Linked DNA regions of Homo sapiens: all the other regions are linked to region 1. The links are contacts of gene promoters, found by promoter capture Hi-C in blood cells and fetal thymus (Javierre and others, 2016). All regions are on one chromosome and are shown on one strand. The core of a region is centred on a gene start or on the middle of the fragment in contact, and the rest is flanking DNA. Distances in the headings are between cores, read along the strand shown.

Evidence for each region. Contacts are between HindIII fragments. The CHiCAGO score rates a contact against its expected background, and 5 or more counts as called.
Region 2: a fragment that was not itself captured here is called in contact with the fragment with the promoter of TMEM200A in region 1 in 1 of 17 cell types (megakaryocytes); the score reaches 5.0 in megakaryocytes.
Region 3: a contact is called between a fragment that was not itself captured here and the fragment with the promoter of TMEM200A in region 1, in 4 of 17 cell types (total CD8 T cells, naive CD8 T cells, erythroblasts and 1 more). The highest score is 6.3, in total CD8 T cells.
Region 4: a fragment that was not itself captured here is called in contact with the fragment with the promoter of TMEM200A in region 1 in 1 of 17 cell types (megakaryocytes); the score reaches 6.8 in megakaryocytes.
Region 5: a contact is called between a fragment that was not itself captured here and the fragment with the promoter of TMEM200A in region 1, in 7 of 17 cell types (megakaryocytes, activated CD4 T cells, non-activated CD4 T cells and 4 more). The highest score is 12.5, in megakaryocytes.
Region 6: a fragment that was not itself captured here is called in contact with the fragment with the promoter of TMEM200A in region 1 in 5 of 17 cell types (megakaryocytes, activated CD4 T cells, non-activated CD4 T cells and 2 more); the score reaches 8.8 in megakaryocytes.
Region 7: a contact is called between a fragment that was not itself captured here and the fragment with the promoter of TMEM200A in region 1, in 1 of 17 cell types (megakaryocytes). The highest score is 5.5, in megakaryocytes.

The regions. Positions count from the first base shown.
Region 1 is chr6:130,364,691-130,367,364 of GRCh38, forward strand. It overlaps TMEM200A (transmembrane protein 200A), which reads left to right and starts at 1,327. Exons shown (of 3, transcript NM_001258277.2): 1 at 1,327-1,834. It also overlaps a transcript of SAMD3 not described here. RefSeq lists a silencer at 761-860. The HindIII fragment of the contact is 9,800 bases long and covers 1-2,674 here.
Region 2 is chr6:130,871,821-130,874,494 of GRCh38, forward strand. All of the region lies in intron 14 of EPB41L2 (erythrocyte membrane protein band 4.1 like 2), which reads right to left. Among named protein-coding and RNA genes, the nearest start is that of SMLR1, 46 kb to the left of the region's middle. The HindIII fragment of the contact is 1,505 bases long and covers 582-2,086 here.
Region 3 is chr6:130,827,915-130,830,588 of GRCh38, forward strand. The region is part of intron 1 of SMLR1 (small leucine rich protein 1); the gene reads left to right. Among named protein-coding and RNA genes, the nearest start is that of SMLR1, 1.8 kb to the left of the region's middle. The HindIII fragment of the contact is 1,387 bases long and covers 626-2,012 here.
Region 4 is chr6:130,808,356-130,811,029 of GRCh38, forward strand. No RefSeq gene overlaps it. Among named protein-coding and RNA genes, the nearest start is that of SMLR1, 18 kb to the right of the region's middle. The HindIII fragment of the contact is 4,039 bases long and covers 1-2,674 here.
Region 5 is chr6:130,711,100-130,713,773 of GRCh38, forward strand. No RefSeq gene overlaps it. Among named protein-coding and RNA genes, the nearest start is that of SMLR1, 110 kb to the right of the region's middle. RefSeq lists an enhancer at 612-1,126. The HindIII fragment of the contact is 442 bases long and covers 1,138-1,579 here.
Region 6 is chr6:130,678,615-130,681,288 of GRCh38, forward strand. No RefSeq gene overlaps it. Among named protein-coding and RNA genes, the nearest start is that of SMLR1, 150 kb to the right of the region's middle. The HindIII fragment of the contact is 7,610 bases long and covers 1-2,674 here.
Region 7 is chr6:130,646,624-130,649,297 of GRCh38, forward strand. No RefSeq gene overlaps it. Among named protein-coding and RNA genes, the nearest start is that of SMLR1, 180 kb to the right of the region's middle. The HindIII fragment of the contact is 3,144 bases long and covers 1-2,674 here.

The sequences.
Region 1 (2,674 bases), core at 77-2,576:
GTTTTCTTTTCTTTCTTTTTATAAAACATTTTGATTGTGACATCTCCACTAAAAGTGCCCAATCTCTAAATTCTTCTAGTCAAGGCAAGAAGGTTATACCACAGGAAATCCATTTCTACAGTCTCTTCTCATTGCCATATCTGATTTTAAAGACTTTTTTTTCTAATGTGGAAATTTTTGCATGGCTCTCCCCCACCCCCCAAACACGGATTTTATACCCCCCCAGAAGCAAACTTTTCTTGAAAACGAGATAAACAGATCACACGCCGAAATAAACAAATACACTGCACCAGAATATCATACTTGCCTTCTATCACTTAAAACAGATCCAGGGGACACAAGCATAGCACACACCTTGTGCATGCGGCTGGCCTGCACAGGGGGTGGTTGGAATATCCGGTAATTAGTTTTACATGAAACTTTACTTACGGAATTGGCCTGCATATATACAGTCATCACCGTCTTTGCCGAATTAGAGACGACATATTTTACTCTGTGAACAGGCCAGTCTCCACTCACTGGATGTTTGGGGTCAAGGAGGAGTAACCTGAACCTCTCGTTGGCTTTGATGTTTGGAGTCGAACATCCGCACTGCTCATCGAAGACCCCCGTGCTTCAGTTCCCTCTGTCTTCCATTTCCCCCGCCCATGGTTCTCGCCCCCCCAAGCCGTTCTCCGGAACCCCTTGCCGGGCCGGCGGGAAGCGTGGACGGAGCGGGCCTTGGCCGCGTCTTTTCCGGCCAGGTTTGGTTTAGCTCGCGCAGCGCCCGCGCAGCCCGCCAGGGGGACCCCGGCCCGCCGGGCGGCATCTGAGGAGAAAGCGTCCGAGGGGCGTGGAGCCAGGGTCCTGCGGTGCCTGCTCCGGGAATACTGCGAGTCGGCTGGAGCTCCCCAGCCGCTCCGGAGAACTGGGGGAGCCGGGTCCCTGGCTCGGTAACCGGTGGTCCCGCGGTAGCTAGAGGCGGGCCCCACGGGTGGGTGTGTCCGTTTCCGCACGCCAGCCTTCCAGCCCGGGAAGAGCGCCTGCAAGCGGGTACTTTGTTCCCAAAGATGGGTTTTGTCTGCGGGTGATTTGGGCTCTCGAAGTGCAACTTTGTGGCCGGGACGCGGATCGGCCGGCCTGGGCTCCTGCAGAGCAGATCCTGTCTGCGTCCTCCAGGAGGAGTGGGTGGCAGGACTGGGGTTTCCCACAGGTTTTGGGGCGGCGGCGAGATTGGCACGGTCCGGGGTCGCAGGCGCGCAGCCACGCCCCTGGAAGTCCGCCCCGGCCCCCGCCCCCAACCCGCCTCTTCGGGGCTTTATGGCGTGAGGTTTGGGGCTGGGATCCATCTGGAGCCGAGCAGAAAACTTTTCCCCTCCCGTTCCCGGTCCCTTTTGTCTTTCTTGGACGCGGTGGCGGCGCCGCCTGAGCGGCGACTCCCTCTCCCCTGCCCGGCTTGCTGCGCCCGGTGCCCTCCGAGGGCAGGCGCGCCTGGACTCTGCGCCCGGATGGCGGCGGCCCTCTGTGAGCACCGGCAGCGGCGCATCCCCTGCCCCGAGGCCTCCGGTGCCCCCCCGGCGCGGGCATAGGGGCGCCCCCACCCTCCGTCCGCTTGCACCCCTTGCCACCCGCCCCCTCGCCTGACTCATCCGCCCGCGGTGGCCGCCCGAGCCCTGGGATGGGGAGGGAGACCGCGGCTGCCCGCGGCGGCCGAGATTCCCGCTGACGCCCCCGACCCTGCCGCCTTCTTCGTCCGCCTCCAGAGGCGCCCGACGTCCCGACAGCTCCTGGAGTGAGACCAGGACTGAGAACAGGGAGAGGCGACCCGACCCCCAGGGCCCGGTGCTCAGGACAGGTGAGGGGAAGGAAAGGGTGCTGACGGGAGTGGGGAGGTGGGTGGGCGGCCACCGCAGCCGAAACCGGGCACTTCTTCAGCCCTCTGCCCTCCCCTCCCCTCCGCTACAGCCTCCAGAGTTAGGTAAACGCTGTCTCTCCTAAAGTTTGGGAAATAAACCAAGTCCGCCATCAGGTCCAGACTCCCCAGTCCCGGGAGCGCGAGAGAAGCCGTGCGGGGCAGCCTCCAAGAACCCGGAGTACTGGAGCGCCTGGCTGGGTTTCTCCAAGCAACACCCTCCTTTGTCTCGGTTCCTGAGAGTCAGCATTCTCTGTAATGTCCACAGCGTTAATTCATGATTGAGCAAAGTATGGTCAGGGTTTCGTAAAGCAGTATCTGGATGGGGTAGAATCTACACAGGCAAAATGGAGAGGCAAAGCAATTATTTGCAAAATTCAGCACTACTCTTCTCCCTGTAGTCTTGTCTGTAAGAGAAAGGACTGAGGGCTTCTAAGATTTGCTTCATTAATCATTCTTTTGCTATAAATTGTTCCAGCCAACACTTCACATTGTGTAGGCGCAAGCTCTCTGTGTGTATTTACCGCTGTTTGATTTAGAAAAATGTGTGTGTGTTTGTGTGTTTTTTTTAAATAACAATTCATTGTTCAGTACCGGGCATTGGTAATGTCGGAGAGAAAGGCAGATGCAGCACATACAGGTAATTGACTAATTGGAATCAGCCTTAGTCCGGTCCACCTTAGTCTGGTGTATTTAAAAACTAAATATGTTGGACTAAAGTGTCTCTTGCCTTGTCTCTTCTGAATACCTTCAGAAGTAGTTATGGACAACTGCATAGAAAAC
Region 2 (2,674 bases), core at 84-2,583, 510 kb after region 1:
AGAACATTTCTGAAACACACATTTCATTATTATTATAGATCAGTGAATTATTATTATTGTTATATCTTAACCTCAATTAGCTGGATAGGTTCTGCCCAAGTTCAGGGAATTCCTTAGGGTCATTCAAAAGCAATTATGTCATGGAGCATGGGAGGCACTTCAGATTTTTTCCATATAAACAGAATTTTAAAAATAACATGCCATCAGAGGATGCCTGAAATTTGGGGTTTTGAAAATGTCAACTCTGCAAAGCATATCTGGTTGAGGGTTTCCCTCTGCTTAACAGCCCAGACTCTGGAACTTAATGATTTAAATTATTCTCTGAATTTAGGCAGATTTTTTTTTTCTTTGACCAAAGAAGCAGGAGAAACATCCAATCTATATCTTTTCTTCATGTTCCAATTCAGTCATTGTTTCTTGAATGTTTCTCCCAGGAAGAATTAATTTCACCAATGAAAGCACTGGAGGGAATGGTGCCTGAATATTTAAAAAAATGAAAATCTCTCTCATATGTGGCTTTTAGTAACAGGGGAAACAAAGTAAAATGCACCTCAAGCAAGTGTGAGAAGGGCGAGGAAGAAAGCTTTTCAGAAGGTGCATTAGCGCTCACAACAGCGCCCTCTGCTGTCCAAGTGGTGGCTGAAGTGAAGGTGGCTTTCATGCTATCAGAAAAGCCCTTTTCACTAAACAAAATTGATGTTATCTCCTCTTCTAGGCTCTAGAGAGGTCAGAAAAGGAAGAGCAAAGAATTAGCAATAAGTCAGAACAGACAGCAGTGACCTATTGGAAGAAAGGAAAGGTTACACAAGAAAGAACAACAGAACAGCATAAAATGAAAGAAAAGATGAGAATTCTGACAGATTCTGGAGCAGGCTTATGAAGAGGTTTGTGAGCGCCAGCTTTTCCACCCTGCTTGAGAATCTTTGATAGTTGCGACCTCCAGAAACCAGTGAAAACTGCTTGGCTGATCACCAACTGAGCACAACCGACCCACCCAAACGCCATTTCATATATTCTTGAGGTAGTTCCTTGGCCTTTCTCTGCACGGAATGGCCTCTTCAGTGGCCCCTACACTTGAAATGCTTATTCCTGTGTTACAGCTTGGGCAGTCCTCCCTCTCCTGCCTCCAAGGCCCTTCTTTGCCCTTATCTGCACATTCTGGGCCTTTCCAGTTTTCTAACCTCCCTGAGGCCCACTTCATAGTCTGCATTTTCTGTAAGGCCTTCCCTCACCACTCCAACTCCTACAATCTCCCTCCTCAATACCACCTTAACTCTCTGTACAACAAACATTCTGACAGCAGCCCACATTCATTCCCTCAGGCGTGCTAAATATGCCACAGAGTAAATTACCCTGTCCCCTTTTTTTGCAAAAAGAAACAGGTAAAGAAAAACAATTCAAAATAGGAAGACAAACTCAGAGTTGAAAGCTCAATGAGCAACGTGAAAATTATTTCTCCCTAAATTAAACCATTAAAGCAAATTTAACTTTGCTGTGTCTGGCTCTTAAACAATGGCTCCCAACCTGCCTGAGGGACAGCAGAACTGTCCTTAGAAACTTGAAATGTCAATATTCAAGAGTCATCATGAAGCACCCCCTCATGTCAGAAGTGTGAGAATAATTCCTAATAAACCCCACTATTCAGGTTTTTTTTTTTTTTTGAGACGGAGTCTCGCTCTGTCACTCAGGCTGGAGTGCAGTGTGCCGCGATCTCGGCTCACTGCAACCTCTACCTCCCAGGTTTAAGTGATTTTCCTGCCTCAGCCTCCCCAGTAGCTGGGATTATAGGCGTGCAGCACCATGCCCAGCTAATTTTTATATTTTTAGTAGAGACGGGGTTTTGCCATGTTGGCCAGGCTGGTCTCTAACTCCTGACTTCAGGTGATCTATCCTCCTCGGCCTCCCAAAGTGCTGGGAATACAGGCGTGAGCCACCGCACCCAGTCACTATTCAGAAATCTTAAAGAAAAATCAATGACGCTCCTAAGGGGCCCCTTCATACTGTGAGCTAAGAAGGGTGAGGAGCGCAGAAAGTGAGGTGAGGAGGGTGAGGGGAGTAGGCACTTGCAATATTCAGCAGAGGAAAAAGCTTTTGGACTGACTTAACTTCATTACCATCTCTATGATTACATCGTCCCTTGGGGAAGTGGGGGTGGGTGGGATGCCCTTCCCAGTGAGAGATCACTGGGGAATTTAAAGAAGTGCCACACATTTCGTTATCCAATGACATACCTTCAAAAGTACCTTACAACTCAATGTACATAATCTCTTAGACTCAGGAGAGAATAGTCTATGCAAATTTAAGTCATCATAATTCATACAACACGTTAAGAGGATTACAATAGAGTTATTTACCCATTAAAGATTAAATGACTTGGTTTCCAATTTTCTGCTCTACTCTCAAAATTGTTCAAACTACAGCCACTTTGAAAATGCAATGTATTTTTTTTTTTTAAAAAGAAACTATTCCTGCTTTTTTAAAAAGCTATAAAAGCCCATATTATAGAAATTTGGAAAAGTGGTCAAATTATATACTTATGCATAATTTTTTTATTTTACTTTCAATAAGAATTACAATTCAAAGATAAACGAGAACCCCTGCAGAATTAACAGTAAAATGAAGATACAACAAAGACAGAAATTGAAAAGGTACTCTGGTAAAGTCAAAACACTCC
Region 3 (2,674 bases), core at 69-2,568, 460 kb after region 1:
TCAGCAATTTTGACATATGGTTGCTTGTCTCTCTCTCTCAAGGCAATAGAGTCACATATGTGAAAACATTGTTCATGGTCTGCCTTCTTTACATGACAGATGTGTTTATGTGGCCATGTGTGTGCATGTCCGTGCGTGTGTATGCGCCCGTGTGTGCACACACACAACTTTCTCATCCACTGAACTTCTGGTCAGGGAATGTTCCAAACATTCTGCTGTCACAGTCTTTGTAAATGTAAAGCCCTGATAGATAAATACTTGACCTTGGTGTAAACGTTCCATGGGATTATAGTCTTAAGGTGGAAAAAAACCAAACCAAACAAATAACTCAGGAAGCTTAAGGTGATTTGGAATGGACATTCGGGTCTTGGATTGACACTGTTTATTCTGCTATAATTAAAATTAATGAAACTGGGCTGTAACTAGATAGACTATGTGTTAATACTGTGCCAAGTACACATGAGATTAATATCATCAAGGTTAATAACTATTTTAGCAAAATCAACAAAGACCAGTCATATTTCTTAATTTGGATAGTGTCATATTAAAACAAATTTGAAAAACCCTCCTCTTTGAACATCTGTTTATGTAATAACATACATGAAGGCATTTCTTGGACTTGCCAAGCTTTTGTGGTAATCTTAGATCACTAATGCTATAATATATAACCTAACAGAAGTGCAATGAGGGATATTTCTTCCTAAGATGAGATTTGGAACATAAAGAAATCCTAGGAGACACAGACAGTATGTCATGGAATCAAGTTTTTCATCACAACTTACTCAAATATGCCCCTAGCCTTTCATTTTTCGTGTGTCTCATTTTTATGAACAGCCCTTTTGCTGAGGGGTCAAGCCATATTCTGCCTCACTCTATAATATTCATGTGATAAATCCTTTTCTTTGTTAAGTCAGTTTATCCTCCACTGCCCTAAGACCAGTCTGTTGGATGCTCTTGTCACCCAGCCATTCATTACCACTGAACCCCGGAAGTAGCCTCCAAAAAGGAAGAGAAAATAAGAAATCCCCAAGATCATAACCATGGCTTCCCTTCAGTGTCTTCCAAGTCGAAATGTTTTTCAGAGTTGTTGCAAAGATTCCCATCCGTAACACTCACTGCATCTCAGCCTCCCATTGACATTGAACGTCCCAGGGACAATAAAACGATGCTGATGTCATCATCGGGGACTTGGAGACTTCCTGTAGTTTCCAAGTTTCATCTCTGGCTGGATGAAATTTTCAGTATTTCAAAAACTGCAGCAAGTACAGGTCTAGATAGCCTCATGGATATCAAGATCCCTTATTGGCCTCTACTTCACAGCTATTACAGGCCAGTTAATTCAGTGGGACATCTGGTATTTGGGATAGACTCTGCAAAAAGAGGGTGAATCTGTTTTATAGTTTTACTCATTCCTGGAAAAACATCTGTAATATGTAACATGTAAATGGGTCTATGGTATTTTATTTAGATAATTCTGAGGTATAAATGTATGAATCACATTGCTTTAGAATACCCTGGAAAAGTCAACGTGCAGGGTATGGCCTGGCATCACAGGGGCTGATGCAGGGGAAATGCAGTCCAAGTGCCAGCCCCAGAGGAAGTGCTCCATGTGTGTACACCTCTGTGATGATTGCACGCTGATGCCCTCCTATCTTCAGCACTTCCCTGCCCGTGCAAGTTATCTAGAGATCAAGTCTCAGAAAAAAGTTACTACCTTAAGTTTGTAACTCAATACAATTGAAACTACTTCTGAAGGATTTGAGTGAAGGGAGCAGAGGCTCCCAATAACCTCTTGTTTCTTCACACTTCCTTCCCCTTTCTTCATTCCAAATTCTGACATGCTACTGAGCTTTTCTTGACTTCTAGACTTGCCCACAACTGTTAAGTCTGTCCCTTCCATCTCAGAGCCTTTATTTTTGTAGCATAGGATCTAACCCAAGGGAAAGCAAGCATGTCAGCCTCACACGATGAGGGTCCATGCTCACTGGGTAGAGTCATTACACCAACTTTAAAGCTTACTCCAAACTTATGTCATATTCTGGATAGCGATAATTCTCATTCATTTATTCAACGAATATTTGTTAGTCTATCATATACCACAGACTGTCCCAGATACTGGGACAGATTTTTACTATGAGTTTTTAAGACTAAGAGAAAATAATCCCAGTTCTAGAAAACCACAGAAGGCATCTGGCAAAATCAGCAGAAGTTAGAGGAGGTGTTGCAAATCTGTATGTTTCTGATTCTGGCCTCATTAAATGTCTGATCAAAGAGCTATAATAATAACCTGGACTTTTCCCTCAGTGTCAGGGCTGAGCACTTCACCAGAGGCAGGATCCTCTACAGTGAAGGGGCACCCCCAGCCAGGTTATGAGCCTCCATTTTCTGTGGTTTTTCCCCATTGTCTCCTACTTGGGCTTGCTCTAATTGAAGTGTGCCTGGAGCTTCCAGGCTGCAGGTAGGAATTACAGGAAGAGTGAGTGAGGAGGCAGAAGGAGCTATTTACCATGGCAGAACAAAAATGTGTGCATCCGTTACTTAACGCAATGGGGGTCCCATCTGAAATTTATTGTTGGAAAGAATACTAATGACTAGAAACACTATTACTGCCAACCATCTGGAAGATGCTCAGTGAGGATGTCAAAGGCATTTAAACGAGAGCAACTCCATCTTG
Region 4 (2,674 bases), core at 60-2,559, 440 kb after region 1:
GACTGCTTGAGCTAGGGAGGTTGAGGCTGCAGTGAGCCATGATTGCACCACTACACTCCAGCCTGGGCAACAGAGCAAGATCTTGTCTTAATTAAATTTTTAAAAAATTATTTTTTTTTTTTAAAAAAGAACTTAATCAGCTAAAACTCAATAGGAAGGTAACACAATAAAAAATGAGCAAAGGTTTGAACATTTTACAAAAGAAGTTATATGAGTAACCAGCAAGAGTATGGAAAGATGCTCAACATCTTTAGTAATCAGATGTATTCATCATGTTTTTTTTATTCTGTAGTTTTGATGCTTTGACATCTTGTTGACCTTGGAGGGGACTGTTCCTCCTAGGGCTACCTAATGCTAATTCCCAAAGATAGCAGTCTAACGAAACCAAAATTCTACAAAACATATAGTTGAGGGTGGGGCTCTGAATTGGTTGGTTTGCATATGAAAAGCACCTCACAAGTGACAACAAACTATCTTTTTTTTTTTTTTTTTTTTGAGACAGAGTCTCGCTCTGTCGCCCAGGCTGGAGTGCAGTGGCATGATCTCGGCTCACTGCAACCTCCATCTCCTGGGTTCAGGCAATTCTCCTGCCTCAGCCTCCTGAGTAGCTGGGATTACAGGTGCCCACAACCATGGCCAGCTAATTTTTGTAGTTTTAGTAGAGACAGGGTTTCTCCGCGTTGGCCAGGCTGGTCTCGAACTCCTGACTTCAAGTGATCCGCCTGCCTCGGCCTCCCAAAGTGCTGGCATTATAGGCATGAGCCACTGTGCCTGGCTCAAAGTATCTTTTTAATGGCAGTCATCCTGATCCATTGTCCTTGCCATACCTCAAAGATAATAAAATTTTATATTTTAAAACACATGGAAATTCAAATTAAATGCACAATGAAATAAAACTACATACTTACTAGCATATATAAAATTTTAAGAAGATGATAATATCAAGTATGGGTGAGGACAGTGAGCAACTGGCACCTTCATACATTGCTGGTGAGACTGCAAAATAGTATAATCATTTTGGAAAGCTGTTTGACAGTTTCCTATAATTTTAAACATACACTTACCATACGACCCAGCAATTCCAATCCTAAGTATTTACTCAAAAGAAATGAAAATATATGTCTACACAAATTGTCTGCAAATTTATTCATGATAACCAAAAACTGAAAATTAAGTGTCCATCAATAGGTGAATAGATAAACAAATTACAGCATATCCATAGTGATATGGAATGATATGGCATAAAATACTACTCAGCAATCAAGAGGAATTAATTACTGAAAGATGCAACACATGAATAAATTATGCTATGCAAAAAAGCCAGACACAAAAGCATACATACTGTAAGACTCCATTTCTATAAAATTCTAGAAAAGATCAATTTAATTTACATTGACAGAATATCAGTTTGCCTGGTGTCAGGAGTGGGGACGAGTGTGAAGAGGCACAAGAACAATTTTGGGGGATGATAGAAATATTCTATATCTTGATTGTGGTAATGATTACCTGAGTATGTGAATGTGTCAAAATTCATTGAAATACAAACTTACATGGTTACATTTTACTGTATGTTAACTACACCTCAATAAAGTTGATTTTTAAAAAAACATTATCCTTGAAATAGAATCGATTTTGTCAGTTTTATTTACTATTATTTTGCCCATAATGAGTTAATATGTCTGACTACTCTGAAAATGTTATGAAAAGAAAAAAGCTATATGTGGAAGTAATTATTGAGACCAGATGGTTTTCTGCTCTTTGAAGAGTTGACAATATTAACAGTATTGCTTTATGTGTCTATAGAGTCTTATCTCTGTTACTTCGTGTTATTATGTATCTATAAAATGCCACTTTGTAGCAATAGCTGTACATTGCAAATATCCTTTTACATGGCTTAACCATTGATTCTGACATACAGACCCTGTTATGCGTCCCTCCAGTTCTGACATACAGGAGGCTTTTGCTCACCAGCAATGACAGAAAAACTGCATGCCAGTTCAGGAATGCACTGTCTGGACCAACATTTGCCCTGCATTCCCAAGAGGAAGGTTAGGAACCCTAAGCAGCTGGAGAGATGCCCAGGAAAAGAATGTCCCCATCTCTGCTTCTTTTTTAGGTGAGTGGGGAAGATAAAACAGAACTGCCAGATGGCTACAACTCATTACTGCCTGGCAGTATTCAGGATGAAATAAGAGTAAATTAATCAGCATTCAGGAGGAATTAATGGCAAGGGGAGATGTGTATCGATGCTATTTTAGCCCAAGTCAAATTAAACCTGTAGAACTGACAACACACATTAATCTCCCATTGCCTCCAGTAGCTGTGCAAATGAGCTCCTCGTTTCTTTATACAAACAACTGTCATTTTGACGTTACTACTTTGGCAAAAAATTCTAGCGATGGCCTGGTAAGTTACCCCTAGTGATTAATACAGACTTGCGCTTTAAACTCGCTCTGCTAAGGAAAGAACGTAGTCTATATGGTAGCCATGAATCTCTAAGCGGCAGCCTTCTGACAGAAAGAAGGGCTTGTGTAAACCAATAGTCTGATTAGTCAGTTGTCTGCAAACGCTCAGGCTTAAATGAGCACTGAGGATTAACTGGATATTGCAGAAGTTGCAAGGATTTTTTTTTCCTAAAGGGAAATAGAAAAATTATGGGTTCTTTTTTACAAAA
Region 5 (2,674 bases), core at 109-2,608, 350 kb after region 1:
TGTGTCTGAGTCTTCACATAACATCCTTCTCTCTGTGTATCTGTGTCCATATTTGTCCATATTTCCATCTTCTTGTAAGGACATTGGTCATTGGCCTAGAGTTCACTCTTACCCTGTACTACCTCATCTTCACGTGAATATACTTGCAAAGACCATTTCCAAGCAAGGTCACATTCACACATACTGAGGATTAGGACTTCAGCATATCTTTTGGGAGGGCACAATTCAACCCACAAAACAAGTGATATTCAGATACAGCAGAAGTCATGAAAGTGGGATATAAAGAGCATTTTGAAACTCTGAGGATACTACTACAATGGAAAGAGGGGTGTATAAAGGAACCAGGACATATGTTCAGTTACACACAGGCCCACGAGCTTCAAGTCAAGCAATGTATTGTGATTTCTCAGAATGTGATCAACATTTGCTAACACCCCTCTAGACTCCTAACCTTAGCAAGTCATATCTGAAAATTATGTAGTCAGAACATAAAAAAGGAATCAAAATATTGATGCTGCTGGAAAAACAATCCAAAATACATGTATAGTCAGTGGTGTTGTCAAATGGAGGCAACACACATTTTTTATATTTCTCTGAGCATTTAGCCTTCTTCTAATAATTGATGTCTCCAAGGTAGAATTTAATTTCAATAATATTTCTAGCCAAAAATGACCATCCTTGTATAGTCATGCATCACTTAAAGATGAGGAAATGGTTATTAGGTGATTTAGTTGTGGTATGAACTGTCAGGCCTCTGAGCCCAAGCCAAGCCATCACATCCCCGGTGACTTGCACATATACGCCCAGATGGCCTGAAGTAACTGAAGAATCACAAAAGAAGTGAAAATGCCCTGCCCCACCTTAACTGATGACATTCCACCACAAAAGAAGTGTAAACGGCTGGTCCTTGCCTTAAGTGATGACATTATCTTGTGAAAGTCCTTTTCCTGGCTCGTTCTGGCTCAAAAATCTCCCCCACCGAGCATCTTGCGACCCTCACTCCTGCCCGCCAGAGAACAAATCCCCTTTGACTGTAATTTTCTTTTATCTACCCAAATCCTATAAAACGGCCCCACCCTTATCTCCCTTCGCTGACTCTCTTTTCGGACTCAGCCCGCCTGTACCCAGGTGATTAAAAGCTTTATTGCTCACACAAAGCCTGTTTGGTGGTCTCTTCACACGGATGCCCATGAAATGAACATCATAGAGTGTACTTACACAAACCTAGCTGGTTCAGCCTACTACACACCTAGGCTAGATGGTATAGCCTATTGCTCCTACCTAGGCTACAAACCTTTACAGCATGTTACTGTACTGAATACTGTAGGGAACTGGAAGACAATGGTAAGTATTTATGTCTCTAAACATATCTAAACATAGAAAAGGTAAGGTACAGTAAAATTATGATATAATCTTATTATGGGTCATAGATGCAATCCAACATTGACCAAAACATCATTATGTGTCACATGGCTATACTTGGAGAGGACTTCCTCTAATCTGGGCACTATTTCCCAGTACCTAGCATTAGCCTCTAATTTTTTTAGTCCCCAGCTGTGTCTCCTTGCAGGAAAACAAAAGCTTATAGTTTGATAATTAAATTAATTATAGAAAGTAATTATTACATGCTATACCTCAAAAAATTTGATCTGCAATTTGTCACACAGCATAAAGGGGGAGGGACAATTAGGAAGAGTCATTTTGCATTTAGAAGGTCAAAATTGGGATGTTTACTATTTGAAATTGAGCAAGAAACTCTGGGGAGAAAATAATAATAATAAATCTTGTAAACGGTTTTATGAAACCCTGGAACGCTTTGGATATTAGGAAGGTTTCCCTGTCTCATTTGTTGAAGTAATAAAGTGTGAAGAAATGGTAAATCTGATTAGCCACGCTTTTCTAGCATTAACCTACAGTCTGAAAGGAAAGAAAGAATATCTAAAATTTCAATCACTGTTGTTTCCTGTGCTTAATCAGTTAAAGAAAAAATGTTCCCCAAGGCTGTTCAGAAAACAGTGATGTTCAGGTATGTGAGAAATCATTCGGAAACCCATGGACCTGTGGCCAAGGCATATGCATTTTTCTGAATGTTGTCAAAAGCAGTTTTATCTTCATAATGTAAGGCAGAGGCTTCTTGGTTGTTTGTGAACCACCTGGTGTTCACAGACCAATGCAGGAATGCAGAAAGCTGTTTCCATGGCAATGAGACTTTCCTCCTGGCAACCACCCCTCCCCCACCTCCCATCTTTCTACGCTGTCAGGAGTTGAGATAGGATTTCTGCAAAGAGCAGCGATGGTGATAGAGCAAGCATTTTGTGTTTTTTTCAAATGCATCGGCTGCATGTTTATAAGCAGTAGGTGAATCTCCTCTGCCCACATGTGGAGAGGTTCACAGACCCATTAGAATCCAACCTTCTCACATTCAAATCACTACATCAATAGCATTTTCTTTAACATCTCAGTTTATGAACAGACACTTCCTAGGTCAAAGGTCAGCGACTACAGCCCAGAGGCCAAACCTGGCCTGCCACGTGTGTTTCTAAGCAAAGCTTTATGGAAAGATGGTCACACTCAGGTGGTTATGTACTGCCACGGATGCTTCTATGTTTCAGTGGCTTAACTGACTAGTTGACAGGACAGACAGACACCATATGGCCCGAAAGTCCAAAAAACA
Region 6 (2,674 bases), core at 93-2,592, 310 kb after region 1:
TGACATATTATAATCATAGAAGTGGCTTCCTATCTGTTGTTTTGAAGCAAATGACAGCCTGTCCACATTTAGAGGCATGAACATCAGGAGGCAGTATCACGGAGTGATCAACTTAGAGTCTGTCTGCCATACATCTGAAAGATTAAGTTTGGTTAGTTACATTTTAATAACTCAGCAGAAATATCCAATATAATTAGTGAACACAATTTTTTAAACCCCCAGAATATAGAGCTAAAAGATAGTCAGAAAATATGAGAGAAAAGACAAGGGAAATTAAAGAGTTTTGTCCTCTAAAAAATAAAGATGTAGGAACAATAAGGAGTTTACTTTGGGAGAATACAAGAATGAGAGAGAAGGGATGTAGGAAGAGGAAGGGCATGAATAACTTTGGTAGAAATTAAAATGTTTTTTGCTTGGGTCTTTATGTATTTTAAGACCCTGGAGGTTGGCCATTTGCTAATTACGTGACCTTAAAACAAGTTACTATTCCTCTGGGATTCTCAACTCATCTATAAAATAAGGAAAATAAAAACCTCCCATCACATCACTTGTAAAGATGAAAGGAAATAATGCAGCTAAAGCACTCTCATGGTCAATGTTATGTGTCAACTTGTCTGGGATAAGGGATGCCCAGATAGCTGGTAAAACATTATATTTGGGTGTGTCTATGAAGGTATTTTCAGAAGACATTAGCATCTAAATCAACAGACTAAGTAAAGAAGATCACCTTCACCAATATGTGTAGGCATCATCCAATCTGTTGAGTCCTCAAAAAGAACAAAAGTTGGATGAGGGGTGATTTCATTCTCTCTTCTTGAGCTGGTATATTCATCTGCTCCTGCCCTTGGACATCAGAGCTACTGATTCTCAGGCCTTCAGACTTAGATGGGAGTTACACATTGGCTCCCCTGTTTTCCAGGCCTTTGGACTTGGACTGGAAGTACAACGCTGGCTTTCTTTGGACTCCATCTTGCAGACAACAAGTAGTGGGATTTCTCAACCTCCATGATCTCTTGAGCCAATCCCTCATAATTAATCCCCATGTATCTATATAACTAACACATATATATTTATATAGATAGATAAATGCATATCCTACTGGTTCTGTTTTTCTGGAGAACCCTGACTAATACAACTACTTAGCACAGGGCCTGGTACAGAGGTAAACTCAACTAACATTAATACTATGTGTATAGCTTTTACAAATTACTCACTTGATAAACCCTTCAGTAAGTGCCCGAAGATTATTTCCACATCATAACTTTGCATTTTCTCATGTCAGGGTAAGCAGTGCCTTTCCTCCCTAATTTGAGGGATTAAAGTGCAACTCCAGTTCCCAGGAATTGTGGTCCTTAGCCTTGCCACAGACGTGGAACACTTTGTAATATGACTTTTGCCATTGAACAATGATTCAAATGTGCATTTAGAAAACTAAGGCAGTAAGAGCAAAACTGAGTTAAAATATTCAGCCAAAAGGAGACAGAGACATAGATTTAAAAAGAAAGTACATTGCAGCATTTGTTTCACAAGAACAAAGTGATTTATTGAGGGAATAAATCATTAAGGATATTCTTGTTAGCTGTGATTTTAACTTTTAGAATATCTGACATACATTCTTTTGAATGTGAAAGTGCTGATTTCCCTCGTCACTTTCACCATGAGCACCCCTTCATTTTTACTTTCTTGCCAAGTTGATTACTCAGAAAATTGGATGCTTGATGGTAGCCCGGCAGCTCTAATTCTTACTTCTCAGACTAGTCTGAACTTGTAGATATAGGCTGCCTGGAAAATCCTTCATCACAACATATTCTTGAATCGCCTGAAGATGAATTTACAATTCTCATTTTTCACTTTTTTTTTTTTTTTTTTTTTTTTTTTTTTTACAGAGTCTCACTCTGTAGCTCAATGGAGTGCAGGGGCATCTCATCTCACTGCAACCTCCATCTCCCAGGTTCAAGTGATTCTCATGCCTCAAGCCTCTCGAGTAGCTGGGATTATAGGCATGTGCCACCACGCGCAGCTAATTTCTGTATTTTTTTTTTTTTTTAGTAGAAACAGGGTTTTACCATGTTGGCCAGGCTGGTCTCAAACTCCTGGCCTCAAGTGATCCGCCCACCTCAGCCTCCCAAAGCATTTTTCACTTCTTTACATGAGTATTGTACATTTTTAAACTTTATAAAAGTAATACATGGATATCTTTAAATAGTACAAAAAGGAAAAAGTAATCTCCCTTCCCTCTCCTTAAAGGCTGAAACACTGCTAAGAATTTCTGGTGTACCCTGAAAAAAAACTGTATCTGAATGGAATCTTTCGTTACCACAAGATAAATAGTAATGTGACTCCAAATAATTAGAACAGTCTAACGTTCATTAAGATACAAACTAGCATTTTATAGAAATTTTATCTGAAAACTCTAGTGCCATAAGGGGTGGCAGATTTTCCTTTGTGGCTTTTAAGTCCTTTTGTGTACTAGTCCAGCCTGAAACTGAAAATATCTTGATATATGGTCATGGGAAACACTAAACAGGCTCATTTATGGTTAGAAAAATCTGAATAGAACTTCTTGGTAGTTTGGGGAATTCTGGCAATGAAACTTCACTCAAACAGTTTGATGTTAATTGAGAGACCAAAAACCTTAGGGAAATATTTTCCTAAGTCATCCCACACTAAGATA
Region 7 (2,674 bases), core at 70-2,569, 280 kb after region 1:
TCTCTAGAGCATTTCTGAAGAGATCTGTCATCCTGGCATTTTGGGTAATAGGTTTCACTCCTACTAAGCGACATCGATGTTCACTGTAGAGCAGTGAATGAAGTGTCCTGTTGTTAGAGACTGAGCACAGCTGGGTTCGACTTGCCTAGCAACAGGGCTCTAATGTGACTTTTTATTTTGTAAAATTCGGGCCTCTAAAATACTTCATGGCATTTGGAAACCTTGTGTCTGTCTTACTGTGCACCGTATGATCAACACCATATGCTGACAGATGAGAATGGAAGCTATTATGTGTTGAAGTATATTGAACCTAGGGTAAAACTGGTATAGAATACAAAATGTTCATTTTACACTCTCTCAGGTAGATGATAATTTGAGTAATATTTGCCCATAGAAGAGCAGAAGTCTATAAATGTTGTGTTCACCATAAAAGAAGCAGAAAAGGAATACCCATAGAGTTGGCTATAAAAAGGAAAAGCCTAACTAGTTTGAAATAATCTTTTTTTCTTTGAATTTCTCCTACTTGACCTTCTAAAACTTTTCAGACTCAGTTCATTTCATTCATCCTGTATTATTTATCTTTTGTTCAGCTTTAATCTTGAAAACAAACACAGAGAAGGATTTTTGAGGTGCATTTATTTCCCCTCTGAGTTGTGGTTTGATTAGTTTGGAGACTTACTATCCTTTAGGTATTTGCCCTTTCAAATTTCAAATGTGTTCCTTTTCTTTCCCTTCAGTATTTCCACATTCTTTTGGAATGCTTTTATTTATAGAAAGCAAAATGCAGTCAAAATATAATATTCTTCTATCAGTCAGCTTAAATTAATGCTCCCAAAATTATTCTACATTCTTTTAAAAACCATGACTCACTTATAAGACCCCACATAATTTTCAGCTATGCTAAAAATCAGCAGGAAGAGGAAAAGAGACAGAAATGATAAAATTTTAAAAAATGATTAGTTGGGAAAAGAAAGCATTGTGCAGTTGACTTGCATCAGGGCAATGGAAGTGTGCTGCCAAATTCCTTTGGACTTTTTTAAGCTCTACAGCTAAATATTCTGAAGAGTTAGTCTACTTATATTAATTTTGTGTTGGCATGTACTGTATATATATGTGTATATATACATATATATGAGATATTACTAGTAACAATTTGCGATATTAAAATCTATTGCAAGTAATTTTGTGCCAGACAACATATTGCCACTTATATTAGGTACTTATTTGTTGTTACATTTTATATTATATTATTAAAAAACCTTGAAGACCTTTAGTCTCTGAAATAAAAACCTGTAATTGTTTAATTTTATTTTATGGATATGTCAACAGACAGATCTGTGGGGTATTCTATTTCTTTGATTGCTATCTTTCAATGAAGATCTTTCTATTAATCTGCTATTCAGTGTCAGAGTCCACAGATAAATCCAATGTTTACTTTAGAGCTTTATAAAATGTACACTATTTTAGAACATTTGTAAAAGTGTATGTTGTATTTGAGACTTGCAGTGATATGCATGCATAATATGTATAGGTCTGGGGCACGGCAAGGCTGGAGTTAGAATACTCACAACCTTACACACTAACATAGGCCTCCAAAGCAAGTAAGCAGATAGCAGGCTCCAGTCTCTTTGACAAAGTGACTTCATAAGCCACAATAATAGCTATGGTTTTTGAGCTACGCAAATTGTGCTAGATGCTTTACATTTATTACTTCTAATCCTTATATGAAATGTGAAAAGTTACCTCTCTTTTATATATGAGGAAACGGTCTCAGAGATTTTGCTATTGACCTAGTAAGTTCCAGAAGAATTATATCTGGCCCCAAAGCCTATTCCATCCACTAAAGTATAATATACCAGAATTGAGTGAAAAATAACAAGGTAAAAGAAAGATGTGAGCATGAGTGCTCTTAACACAATGTAGGAGGAGCAGCTTTTCTAACATCTAACTCAGGTTTTAAAGAAGTCTCACTTGTTCCTTATCACTCAATATTGAAACTAATATAATTGACCAATATGGATTTATGCTTCTAGCAGCAAAACATAGCCATGATAAAAAGAACACAGGTTTTCAACTGACCTTACGGTTTTACATCTCAATTCTGCTATTTACTAGATGTGCAGACTTAAGTGAGACATGTAACACTCTAAGTCTGGCTTTCCTTATCTGTAAAATGCGAATATCTCTATACACGCTTCATAAGCTAGCTGTGCTTAACTAGAAAATGCATTATAATTACTGTGATGCAAAAGGCTGTCAATAAGGGGCAGATATTTTTTCTGAGGCTACACTTCCTAATATGTAAAATTACTTTGGTGAACATTAGTTGAACTGGAGAAGTAAATACAGATCCCAACACATATAGCTATAACTGTTGTGGTTATTTTTAAAAATAAGTCTATTATAGCAGTTTCTAGAGATTGTCAGTACTACTATCATTGATTTTGCCTTGCCTTAGGACTTCATCCTCATAAAAAGGTAAGTTTATAGTAATGATTTTGACAGTCTTCGACGGCCACTTGCTTTCCTAGCCTTGTTTATTCAACCTCTGGACCCAGAGAGAGGAAGACCAGTACTGCTGCAGTCGGCTCCTGCTGCAGGCCTCATAGAGCTGGGTGGGGTGCATCATTTCATTTGTAAGTAAATCTCAATGATAAACATTCAAATGGTCACA